Linked DNA regions of Homo sapiens: region 2 is linked to region 1. The links are contacts of gene promoters, found by promoter capture Hi-C in human tissues and cell types (Jung and others, 2019). All regions are on one chromosome and are shown on one strand. Each heading gives the region's core, a stretch centred on a gene start or on the middle of the fragment in contact. The rest is flanking DNA. Distances are from core to core; before and after follow the strand shown.

The links. The method cuts DNA at HindIII sites, captures the fragments that hold promoters and counts their contacts. A contact is called where the count stands out against the background at its distance.
Region 2: the fragment with the promoter of CHMP1A here is called in contact with the fragment with the promoter of PABPN1L in region 1 in 1 of the 25 tissues and cell types used here (lymphoblastoid cells).

What each region holds. Positions count from the first base shown.
Region 1 is chr16:88,865,410-88,871,902 of GRCh38, reverse strand. PABPN1L (PABPN1 like, cytoplasmic) reads left to right here and starts at 5,243. Exons shown (of 7, transcript NM_001080487.4): 1 at 5,243-5,551; 2 at 5,962-6,097; 3 at 6,273-6,340. The coding sequence starts at 5,297. RefSeq lists an enhancer at 536-675. The HindIII fragment of the contact is 11,880 bases long and covers 1-6,493 here.
Region 2 is chr16:89,653,257-89,659,265 of GRCh38, reverse strand. CHMP1A (charged multivesicular body protein 1A) reads left to right here and starts at 1,558. Exons shown (of 7, transcript NM_002768.5): 1 at 1,558-1,684; 2 at 5,343-5,362. The coding sequence starts at 1,678. SPATA33 (spermatogenesis associated 33) reads right to left here and starts at 1,430. Exons shown (of 3, transcript NM_001271907.2): 1 at 1,318-1,430; 2 at 845-1,018. The coding sequence starts at 1,354. RefSeq lists an enhancer at 1,277-1,446 and silencers at 1,162-1,551, 1,772-1,831. The HindIII fragment of the contact is 33,607 bases long and covers 1-6,009 here.

The DNA of each region.
Region 1 (6,493 bases), core at 3,994-6,493:
CCACTCCTTGTTTCCAGGGGTCAATGCCTGGAGGGGGTGTCCCCAGGAGAGGAGGGTGACCCCATGCAGCCTCCCCGAGACCCCAGCACTCTTGGAGCCCCACTCCTCGGGGTGTACTCACAGGTGCCAGGCTCCCATTCCCTTTCCTGGGATCCCAGATGGCTCAGAGTTGAGTCCTTACGGCCTGAGACTGGGGACTTCTGGGAACAGACCTGCCTGGATAAATTCTGCCAGGAGTGATGGGTGCTCCCCAGGGTCCTCTGCAGCCTCCCTGCCCTGCATCCCCGAGCCCCGGGGCCTATTTCCTCCCACACTGCCCTGCAAGCTCCCACACTGAGGGGGTGCTCTCCAAAATGGGGCTGGGGCCCTGGATGATGAGCGTGCTGGCCGGAGAGGAAGACAGTGAGGAGAGGGGGGAGTCCATGGGGCTGGCCTCCCAGAGGCCCGCCAGCTCCCGTGCACACTTCAGAGATAAGGCCAGGGCGCTGCTGACAACCCCTGCTCCATTTTCCCGAAGTTCTAGGAAACTCCATTTTGGACACTTTCTGTTCTTTATGTTTCAATCCAGCCAAGCCCCGGAGTAGCTTCCCAAAGACCCAGAGGAACGGGAACTCAGCGTCAGTACTCAGAGTGAAACCTGCTTTTGAAATACGTCAATGACGGCAACAGGCCTCCCTTGTCCCCACCTGGCTGGGGTGGGGAGCCCCGCCAGGCCAGCTGTCAGCTCCCCAACCCCATCTGCCAGGGCCGAGGGGGTCGGGCCGGTGAGGACCAGGCGGGGGCACAGCCATGTGCAGCCTGGTGGGGAGGGGACTTACTCTCTACTTTCTCCTCCTCTTTTTTTTGACTCTCCCAGAGGAGTTGAGTTGTTTTCTGTAGTTGTGAGAAGCCCATGCCCTGGGTCTGCAGGCTGTGCAGGGCTGCGAGGTGGCCCTCGCCGCTCCGTCTGACGTACTATGGGTTTGGCCTGTAGATGCTGTGAGATGCAATAGTCGGGTTAGCGCCGTGTCCGTGTAATAAAGCGAACGTTCGCTGTCGCCTGGCTGTTCCTCTCCTTGGGTCCCAGGAGGCTTCGGCTGAGCCTCGTCTCACCCGTGAATTCACTAATTACCTGCTGGGGCTCCTCCGTGCCTGGTAGGGCGGGGCCTCCCCATGCACCACGCACACTGCAGGGACAAACAGGCCAGTGTGTGACGTGGGGCTGGGGCGACGGGGAAGAGGCAGGGCGGGAGCACGACGGGGAAGAGGCAGGGCGGGAGCACACAGGCAGGGAGGAGCAGCAGCCCCAGCCACGAGGGTCCCTGCAGGGCTGGCAACGGCTGAGCCTGCAAAGGGGACTTTGGGGGGGTCCCAACAACTTTACACCCGGGAGATGGTCCTGAGGATTCCAAGACTGGAGCCCCTGCCTGAGCAGCCCCACCTCAGACAGTGCTGGGGCTGGGGCCATGACACCTCCGACCCCGATGGGGGACACAGGGGACCTCAGGGGACACAGACAACACTGAGGGGAGGCCAGGCACGGTGGCTCACGCCTGTCATCCCGGCACTTTGGGAGGCCGAGGCGGGTGGATTGCCTGAGGTCAGGAGTTCAAGACCAGCCTGGCCAACATGGTGAAACCCCATCTCTTCTAAAAATACAAAAAATTAGCTGGGTGTGGTGGCGGGTGCCTGTAATCTCAGCTACTTGGGAGGCTGAGGCAGGAGAATCCCTTGAACTCAGGAGGTGGAGGTTGCAGTGAGCCGAGATCGTGCCACTGCACTCCAGTCTGGGCAACAGAGTGAGACTCCATCTCAAAAAAAAAAAAGAAATGAAAACTGAGGGGACACAGGGGACCTGAGGGTGGACAGCACAGGAAGGGACGGCTTGCCCCTCTCAGCCACCCCCATGGGGCCCTGGTGTTGGGTCACACACGGATCCTGTCTGGAATAGGAGTTGTCCTGGGCGCTGGGGCCCCAGGGGCCAGGCTGCCATGAATCCTCAGGCCCGGCTCTGGAACAGGGTGTATTTGAAGAGTGTCACTGGAAAGGCCAGGGTCGGAGCCGTCTGTCCCCTGCCAGGCAGCTGGCAGGAGCCCTGGCCGGGCCTTGTGTGTCAGCAATCTCAGACAGGGTGAGGATGACAAGGTTTTCCATGGCCGGGGCCCGAGCTCAGAGGGGCATGCGTCAGGGCCTGGGCCGAGTCCAGCAGACTCTGGTCTTGGATGGAACTGGTTGCAATCCTGCCTCTGACAGGGAGGTGGAGGCACGGGTGCTGGCAGACCCTCCAACACACAGGCACAGACACACGGGGCAGGGGGCTCCATCCCAACAGGAGGATCCCAGGCTGAGGCCGCACTCCACCCAGCGTACCTGTCCTCGGTGCAGATGTGGGCGCTGCCCCTGAGGAGCTTTGGTTTCTAAGGGGAGAGCTGGCCAAGTCATCAACACTGGACGGACAGCAGGAAAGGCGTGAGGACAGCGGCTCTCGAGGGAGGAGGAGCAGCCCGGCAGCCCTCCCGGAAACAGTGGCACCGTGTTCGCAGGGGGAACAGCGTCCAGGGACCACGCACACGTAAGTGTGTGGCTGTGCGGAGCCAGGGAGAGGGGAAGGGGCGTCCAGGGCCATAGCCAGGTTCCAGACAAGGCCCATTCCTCCCCGACCTCATGAGCCTGCCCCAGAAAATCCTCTGGGTGGTGAACAGATGGGGTGACAGCATGGTCTTCAGTCAGCCTCCTGGAGGTGGGAAAAGAAAACAGAATTTCGGGACCTAAAACGCACTAAGCCAAAGGGAAAAGTCAAGCTGGGAGCCGAATCACACACACCTGCCTCCCATTTTCTTCCTAATTGGACAGCCACGAAGATGAAGAAGCCTGTGCCTCCTCGCATCGCGCTTACAGGGAAATTCCTTGTGGGTCCCAAGATCTTGGCTCTGAAACAGTTCTGCTGGATCCCACCCAGATAGTGTGATCTAGCAGCTTATCTTCCCAGGTATGGGACAAAGGACAGAGCTAACGTTACCCTCCGCTCACCGGAGGCGAATGCGAACCTGCCAGCTTCCTATTCCCTGTGGCAGTTTTATCTTCTGTGGAAACGCAGAGTCGCTGAGCGTGGGGCTACGTAATTCTCTTCTCTACCCCCACCTTCCACATTTCAAAATGTGCATTTGGTGACTGCCAATCAGAGATTCAAAGGAACGCTACCACTTGCCTTTTATCCGCCCTCCCTTTTCTTTCCTTCCTGTGTTCCCCTCCTGCCCGCTCTTTCCCTTTAAGTATAAAAGTCTCCAAACCCTCTTTGGGTTTTTTTGTTTTTGTTTTTTGAGACAGTCTCACTCCGTCGCCCAGGCCGGAGTGCAGTGGCGCGATCTCGGCTCACTGCAACCTCTGCCTCCCGGGTTCAAGTGATTCTCCTGCCTCAGCCTCCCAAGTATCTGGGATTACAGGCGCCCGCCACCATGCCTGGCTAATTGTTTTTGTATTTTTAGTAGAGACAGGGTTTCACCATGTTGGCCAGGCTGGTTTTGAACTCCTGACCTTAAGTGATCCGCTCACCTCGGCCTCCCAGACTGCTGGGATTATAGGCGTGAGCCACCATGCCCGGCCTCCAAACCCTCTTTGGAAAAAGCAGAGCACAGATGTTGCCTGTGGCTTCGTGTTTCTTTTTCCTGGGTGCACCCTTAACCTTGGCAAGATACACCTCTAAACTGATTGATTGAGACCCATCTCAGACACCTTCTGGCTTTTACAGAGGTGAGAACAGACTGGGTGCAGGAGCCTGGGTTCCCAGGCTGTGGCAGCCTCCATGTCCACCTGCTCCCCGAGCCCCCAGCCCAAGATGGAGGAAGGGCCGCCCTGCGTGGGTGGTGCATGGTGCAGCAGTGCAGCTCCAGCCTAGGCCACGCCCTGTCTCTCTCTCCTCCCCCAGTCCCAAATTCCCAGGAATCCCAGCCCCACTGGCTAAACACCGGGGTGCAGTCACAGAGAGGATGGCCTCGGCCTGGGGGTAGGAGCTGTGCAGGGGGCCCCGTCTCCCACCACCAATGGCAGGGGTAAGAGCCATGCATGACCCCCTGGCCCCGAGTCCTTCACAGAGTGGGTGGGAGACGGCAGCACTGGAGATGAAGGCCAGAGCAGACTCCAGCAGCCGCGGTGGCAGGTGCAGAGGGAGGCGCAAGGGCGGACACGGGTCACCTCCTGCTGCAACCCTGCATGGGTGAAGCCAGGTGCAGACACCACCGGATGCCCACTGAATTCCGCCACAGTAACTCACGCCGTCACTCCCCACGGAGACCCCGCCCCACAATAACTCACGCCGTCACTCCCCACGGAGCCCCCGCCCCACAGCAGAATAATTCTGGCCTCATGGAAGTGGCTCCCACCTAAAAGATGACCCAGACCAGGTGCGGTGCTCACGCCTGTAATCCCAGCACTTCGGGAGGCCGAGTCGGGCGGATCACCTGAGGTCAGGAGTTCGAGACCAGCCTGGGCAACATGGTGAAACCCTGTCTCTACTAAAAAGACAAAAAAAATTAGCTGGGCATGGTGGCAGGTGCCTGTAATCCCAGCTACTCAGGAGGCTGAGGCAGGAGAATCACCCGAACCTGGGAGGCAAAGGTTGCCGTGAGCCGAGATCGCGCCACCGCACTCCAGACTTGGCAACAAAGCAAGACTCCTGCCTAAAAAAAAAAGAAAAAAAAAAAAAAGGCCCAGAATAAGGGTTAGGGAGGCAAGGGTCCCTGGGGACTCCATGGGGGTCAGGATGCAGAGACAGCTGTTGCTGCCCCTCCTCTGGGCCCAGGACCCCGCCCCAACCTGCCTCGGCCCTCTCATCCCATGCACCTGCTCTCGGTCTCTGCTCAGGCCCTGCCTCTCCTGGTCGGAAGCCACCTCTCCAGCCTGCTTGGTCCCTGGTACTAGAAGAAACCACTCCCGTGTTCCCACTTAGATCGAGTGTTCATGCAGTGTGGCGTTCGTGCCGTGTGGATGCTGCTGAGGTGTGAACCCTGTCACAGACCAAGGCTCCAGTGAGCCACAGCGTGGCCAGGCGGAAGCAGAAGAGACCGGTGACCCCCACTCAACTCAGCCTCTCCTTCCTCCAGGGAGAGTGTCCTGGAGGTACCTGTCCGAGTGACAGGGAAGGGGCGGGGCCGGGAGCCAAGGCTGGAAGCTCAGCCCCACTCAGCCTTTGCAAATGCTCTAGTGGGAGCAGCTGGCCTCAGGGGAGGGCTTAAAACTCCAGGAGAGCCTGGGCAGGTGCGGACGCGAGGGGAGTGGAGGGGAGGCCTCGCCTGGCCCACCTTCCTCCTGCCCCTCTACCATGTGGCCCTTCCCGAGCCGCTCTCTCTTCCCACCCCCGACTCAGGCCTGGCTCCAGACGGTCTCCTCAGACCCTGAGGCCCAGGGCTGGGGGGCCTGGAACGAGACCAAGGAGATTCTGGGGCCAGAGGGTGGGGAAGGGAAGGAGGAGAAAGAGGAGGAAGAGGATGCAGAGGAAGACCAGGATGGGGATGCAGGCTTTCTGCTGTCTCTGCTGGAGCAAGAGAACCTGGCTGAGTGCCCATTGCCTGACCAGGTAACAGCTGTGTGGAGGCCCTGGGGATCTCAGGGGACCTGGGGCACAGGGGCTGGTGGAGACACGGGGTCTGGGTGACGGATGGCTGCAGCTGACTTAGGAGGGGAGAGGGCCATTGCCCACCTGCCTGGACGAAGGTGGCAAGGAGACCCCCCGCCCCCAGCCACACAGACTGCAGGGTCAAGGTGGCCTCTCTCGCCTGGGGAAGGGCCCTTGAGGTGCGGTTTCGGGGGCTTCTCTGCAGGGGCGAGTTCATCCCCAGCCAGCTGCCCCAGGAAGGAGTGTCCCTGTCCAGAGAAGGGCTGCCCCTTGGGGCTGTGACCCTCTGCTGGAGCTGGCAGGCCACACACCCACCTTCCTTGAGCAGAGCCTGCAGGCTGCCTGCCCGGCTCAGGGCCGTGTGTCGGCAGGAGCTGGAGGCCATCAAGATGAAGGTGTGTGCCATGGAGCAGGCCGAGGGGACGCCACGGCCTCCAGGAGTGCAGCAACAGGCCGAGGAAGAGGAGGGCACCGCGGCCGGGCAGCTGCTGAGCCCTGAGACCGTGGGTAGGAACCAAGGGCACAGGCCGCCCCCCACTGAGCAAGGGTCCCACAGTTTCCATTAAGGTTGGGCCTGGCAGGCTCCAAGGTGTCACCTCCCCTATAAGCCTGGGCGACCTTCCCCGTGAGAGGAGTGAGGAAGGAACCAAGGGCCTGCGGGCCTGAGCTGTGTTCTCCGCAGGCTGCCCCCTCTCTGGGACCCCCGAGGAGAAGGTGGAGGCTGACCACAGATCCGTCTACGTGGGCAACGTGAGTGGTGGGCGGGGTGAAGGGGCAGGCAGCGAATGGGGCCCCATCTCTACCAGAGGGTCTGGCGCCCGGCCATGGGCCAGGCAGCCTTGCTGGGAAGGGGGTCTGACCCTGGGGGCAGCCCCGTCACCTTGAGGAAACACTGGCCTGGGC
Region 2 (6,009 bases), core at 309-2,808, 790 kb before region 1:
GCTGGCTCCCACTGGGCCACAGCAATGGGTCTCTGACCGGGCCACCTCCCCTGCGAACTGGCTTCCCCTGTTGGTAGGCACAGACCTCATCATGCCGCCCTTGTTTTTTATTTTTAAATATTTATTTTTTGTAGAGACAGGGTCTCACTATGTTGCCCAAGCTGGTCTTGAACTCCTGGGCTCAAAAGATCCTCCTGCCTCGGCCAAATAACTGGGAGGACAGGTGTGAACTACCGCCCCAGGCAGCACCTCCGTTGTTTAAAATATTTAACGCTTCCAGCTCCACGTGGTAAAACTGATGGAAAACTTTGTATTCTAGCTTCTTCCTACTTTTGGGGCCTCATCTTCCCCACACACACCCAAAGGTCTGGCCACACTAGGCTGTTATAAAAGACACCTTTGTCGCACCCAGGTTCTACTCCTCGGTCACCCTCCGCAATGTACTTATCCCCACAGCCCTCGGAGAGCTACAGTCCAGCCTGGGACGGCCTCCCAATGCTCTGTTCCAGTGTGCGGAGGCTCAGGGATTCTCAGTGGCACCAAGATACCCAGCCCTCGAGGAGAACCTCAGGTGAGACACACGCACACTGCCCCAGCCCCTCGACCACCTGGTACGCACTTATCACTCGGGAACTGACCTACATTTTCATTAAACTTATGTTTTCAACTAAGATTTCTGGATATTTACCTCCTACATAAAGTTCCCAAAACAAACCAGTTTCATCTTTACGGCGCGTGCCTGCTACTAGTGTCCATCCGGTAGGGTCTTACAGTAGGCTCCTCACCCCAGCCCCAGATCCTCCAAGCCACTGACCTCGCTTCGCTCCCTCCCGCCGTCTCCTACCTTCCAGCGAAGCTGCCGGCGGCGGGTGCTTGGCTGTCCCGGCCCCCGGGTGGAGGCTGTCCACAGGCTTCTCCGACTCCCTGTCTGCCTGCCTGGCTTCCTGGGAATGCTTCTCCATCAACTTCTCCTTAGATTTTGGAACTGAATAGGTGGATCCCTTCTTTTGCTCCTCACCTGAAATATATGGATCATCCGTTAGACCCGGGACTTACCGAATGCAGGGCAGTGGGTCCCATCGTCTTCAGTCGCCTGCGTGGGTCCAGAATAAGCTGGCTTCAAGTCTCGAGTCTCCGCGTTTCCGTAACCGCCTCAGGCGGGAAACGCGCCGTCCGTGGCGGACTCGGCGGCAGGAACGGTTCGCACCGGGCCGAGCCTGGCGCCTGCGCTCACACCGCCCCGCCCAGCCCAGCCCCGCCCTGGGCCCGCGCCCAGGGGCGGAGACGCGGGGAGCCCAGCGCCTGCGCCTCCTTTACCTTTCCTGGGTTTCTCTTTGCTTTTGGAAAGGCCCATGGGTGAGCCCACCGCCCCCTCCGACGCAAGCCCGGGTCCCCACACCTCCGCGGCCGCGGAGCCGGGAGCGACTCACAAAAGGTCCTCGCGCCAGCGGCGTGCGTCACCATGGCGACCGCGCGCCGCGCAGCCGCGCCCCGCCCCTCTGGCGGGACCGGCCACCATCCTCTCGCGAGAGCATCCCGTGCGACCGGAAGTGGGGCGGCGACCCCGGAAGTCCCCGCCGGGTGCAGCTTGGTCGGTTCGATCGCCGCCGGGACCTGACACCGCCCGGAGTTGGCGTCCCTTCTCCCTCTCCGAGTGCTGCTCCTGTCATTGTGGCCATGGACGGTAAGAGGTCGCGGCCGTCCTCCGGGGACTCGCGCGCGGGGCGGGGCCGCTTCTCCCACTGGCGTGGGCTCCGCCCACCTGGGGCCGCGGGCAGGACTCAGGAGAGCTCGGGCCTCGACCGTCGATCCCCCGGGACCCCATCCCCAGGGCCTCGACCACCGACCTGGGACCCCTTTTCCCGGTCGTCGTCCCCCGATCCCCGACCCGGACCCCATCCCCAGGGCCTCGACCACCGACCTGGGACCCCTTTTCCCGAGCCTCGTCCCCCGATACCCGACCCGGAACCCCTTCCCCAGGGCCTAGACCACCAACCCGGGACCCCTTTTCCCGGGCCTCGACCCTCGATCCCCGACCCGGAACCCCTTCCCCAGGGCCTCTACCACCGACCCGGGACCCCTTCTCCCGGGCCTCGACCCCCGACCACCGACCGGGACCCTTCCCAGGCCCCCGACCCCCAACCCGAGATCCTTTACCCCGGGCCTCGACCCTCGACCCGGGACCCCTCCCCCCAGGCCTCGATCCCCGACCCCCGATTCGGGACCCCTTCCCCGGGGCCTCCATCCCCAAATCTCAACCCGGTATGCCTTCCCCGGGGCCTCGACCTCTGACCCCCAACCATGGACCCGGGACCTAGACTCCCGACCCAGGACCCCTTGCCCAGGGCCTGGACCCCCGACCACCGACCCAGGACCCTTTCCCCCGCCCCTGGCACTCCTCAGCGTCAGGCGCCCTTTCCCGCCAGCTCGGTAGGGGGGACTGTGCGATGCCTGTTCGGCCTTTCGGGACTTGGAATGTCGGGTCAGAGGGCACCAGAAAAAGTGACAGTTGCACCCCCTGCCCCAAACAGCATCACTGCAAATCAGAAGGACTCAGACAGAAAGCGCTCCCTGAGTGCCAGGCCCTGGTCACAGCAGCTCTTTGCGTCCATTCTCCATGTGGGGAAGCAGAGGTTTGAGCAGGAGCCAGCACAAGCGTTTCTGTGCTCAATGGGTCGCCCTAATTCTTACCTTCTACATCTGGGGCTAGCCGGCTGTGTGCTCAGGGATACCAAAGAACAGGAAGAATCTGGCAAAATGAAGTCCTATGTTTGCTGAAACATCGTTGGGCTGGTGTGATGGGCAGGCTTTTAAAAATACTTTTTGAAGGGCTGGGCGCGGTGGCTCACGCCTGTAATCCCAGCACTTTGGGAGGCCGAGGCCGGCGGATCGCAAGGTCAGGAGATCGAGACCATCCTGGCTAACACAGTGAAACCCCATCTCTACTAGAAATACAAAAATATTAGCCAGGCGTGGTGGCGGGTGCCTGTAGTCCCAGCTACTCGGGAGGCTGAGGCAGGAGAATGGCGTGAACCCGGGAGGCGGAGCTTGCAGTGAGCCGAGATCGCGCCACTTCACTCCAGCCTGGGCGACAGAGCGAGACTCCGTCTCAAAAAAAATTCTTTTAGTTAGAAGTGTGAAAAGCTATAGTACCACCGTGTCATCATCATGAAGGAAATGTGTAGAGATTTTCTGCCCTGAGAGAAGATGAAAGATAACATCTACCTCCCGCCACAAAAAATATGCTGGCCAGGCCGGGTGTGGTGGCTCAGGCCTGTAACCCCAGCACTCTGGGAGGCCGGGCGCGGTGGCTCACGGCTGTAATTCCAGCACTTTGGGAGGCCGGATGTGGTGGCTCACGCCTGTAACCCCAACACTTTGGGAGGCCGAGGTTGGTTGATCACCTGAGGTCAGGAGTTTGAGACCAGCCTGGCCAACATGGTGAAACCCCGTCTCTTCTAAAAATACAAAAATTAGCTGGGCCTGGTGGCGTGCACGTGTAATTCTAACTACTTGGGAGGCTGAGACAGGAGAATCGCTTAAACCTGGGAGGCAGAGGTTGCAGTGAGCCAAGATGGTGCCGTTGCACTCTAGCCTGGGTGATAGAGTGAGACTCCGTCTCAAAAAAAAAAAAGAAAAATTGTGGCTTTTCACTCCACAGCTCACTCAACTCTTTTGAGGGGACTTCTCTCAAGCCCATGTCAGATTTCCTCAGAGTCAGATTTTGCCTTAGCTGGGTTTTTGTGCTGCCACACACGGCTGGAAGAGAAAGCTGAGGTGAGGAAAGCTGAGGTGAGGGAAAGCTGAGGTGAGGAAAGCTGAGGTGAGGAGAGCTGAGGTGAGGGAAAGCTGAGGTGAGGGAAAGCTGAGGTGAGGGAAAGCTGAGGTGAGGGAAAGCTGAGATGAGGAGGGCGGTTTGGCCAGCATCCCACAGTGAGTTGGGTGGGACGGCCCGCCTGGCCTGCACTGTGCCATCTGGGTCAGGCTGGCTGTTTTCCAGTCACAGATAACCTTGGCCGTGACCACACCTGAACTGATAGATGACAGGTTGAACTTGGCCTTGACCACGCCTGCACTGACAGGCGATAGATTGAACGATGCCCAGAGCTTTCTGGAACCCCGGGAGATCTCATCTTGGAGCCTTGGTGTGCATTTGTGAACACTCAGTAACCTCATTCTTTTACAGGCTCCATTTCCTCGTTGTGGCTAGTGTGGTAAAGCCCTTTCAGGAATCTGGGGTCAGGGTCGCTCTCCAAATTTAGCAGTTGAATGAATTGAGATCAATCCTACTTTTTAAAAAAAATATTTTTTCTTTTTTTTTTTGAGACGGAGTCTTGCACTGTTGCCCAGGCTGGAGTGCAGTGGCGCAATCTCGGCTCACTGCAAGCTCTGCCTCCCGGGTTCACGCCATTCTCCTGCCTCAGCCTCCTGAGTAGCTGGGACTACAGGCGCCCGCCACCACGCCTGGCTAATTTTTTGTATTTTTTGGTAGAGACGGGCTTTTACCGTGTTAGCCAGGATGGTCTCGATCTCCTGACCTCATGTTCCGCCGGCCTCGGCCTCCCAAAGTGCTGGGATTACAGGCGTGAGCCACCGCACCCGGCAAAAAAATATATATTTTTCTAATAGAGATGAGGTCTGACTATATTCCCTAGGCTGGTCTGGAACTCCTGACCTCAAGTGATCTGCCCGCCTCAGCCTCCCAGAGTGCTGTGATTACAGGCGTGAGCGACTGTACCGCTGGAAATCAGCTCTTTGATGTCTAAGAGTTACCACCTTGCTATTTTTATCCATTTACCTTTGAGGAGAAAGAGTCTGTAAAAAGTAAACTGTCAAGTACTGAACTTTTAAATTGGCCCAGGCTGGCCTCAAACCCTGGCTTTAAGTGATCCACTGGCCTCGGCACCCCCAGAGTGCTGGGATTACAGGTGAACTTTTAAATTGGGAAAGAATCCCAAGGGACATTTGCAAAGTTGCATTAATTATAAACCACCATCTTTTGGATTCTAACCATGGCCAAAAGATGCTGCGTCCATGACCTCTTCTGTCCTCACACTAACCCTTTGAGATTGGCTGGTACCACCCTCATGTTCCCAACAAGGAAACAGGGAGGGAGGGTCTGCATTTGCTGGGCCCTGTGGCTAGCAAGGAGCCAGGGCTGGCACACGAATCTGTCTCGTGCCTCCCCTGTTGGGGGGGGCTCCCCGAAGGCCCCAGGCAGGTGTGGTCTGTGTGTGTGTTCTAGCTCCTGGTGTCTAGAAGGAACCTAGTGAGTCCTGCCTGCCAGAAGTGTAACGTCCCATTCCCAATCCTCAAACCATTAATTCCCTCTTTCTTTGCAGATACCCTGTTCCAGTTGAAGGTATGTACCGAATGGCCGTTCACCCCAGCCCTGTTCTGGTGAGGACAGATAGTATAAGCCACGCTCACTCAGAGCCACAGAAACAGTCGGGCAGATTATATAACAGTTGAGTGACCGCCACACAGGGCTCAGACTGCTGACCAAGGAGGGGATTATTGAGCCACCTTGGTGACATATTAGCTCTTTTCTTATCTGAGGCTAAGTGGAGGCAGATCCTTAGGGTCATCCATGAAAGCCATGAAAGAAATAGTGTTATCTTTTTTTTTTTTTTTTTTTTTTTTGAGACGGCGTCTCACTCCGTCGCCCAGGCTGGAGTGCATTGGCGTGATCTCGGCTCACTGCAACCTCTGCCTCCCGGGTTCAAGCGATTCTCCTGCCTTAGCCTCCTGAGTAGCTGGGACTACAGGCGCCCACCACCATGCCCAGCTAATTTTTTTTTACATTTTTAATAGAGACGGGGTTTCACCACGTTGGCCAGGATGGTCTCGATCTCTTCACCTCGTGATCCGCCTACCTCGGCCTCCTAAAGTGCTGGGATTACAGGCGTGAGCCACTGTGCCTGGCCCGGAGTGTTATCTTAAGAAAGACAACTTGGGGCCAGGCGCGGTGGCTCACGCCTGTAATCCCAGCACTTTGGGAGACCGAGG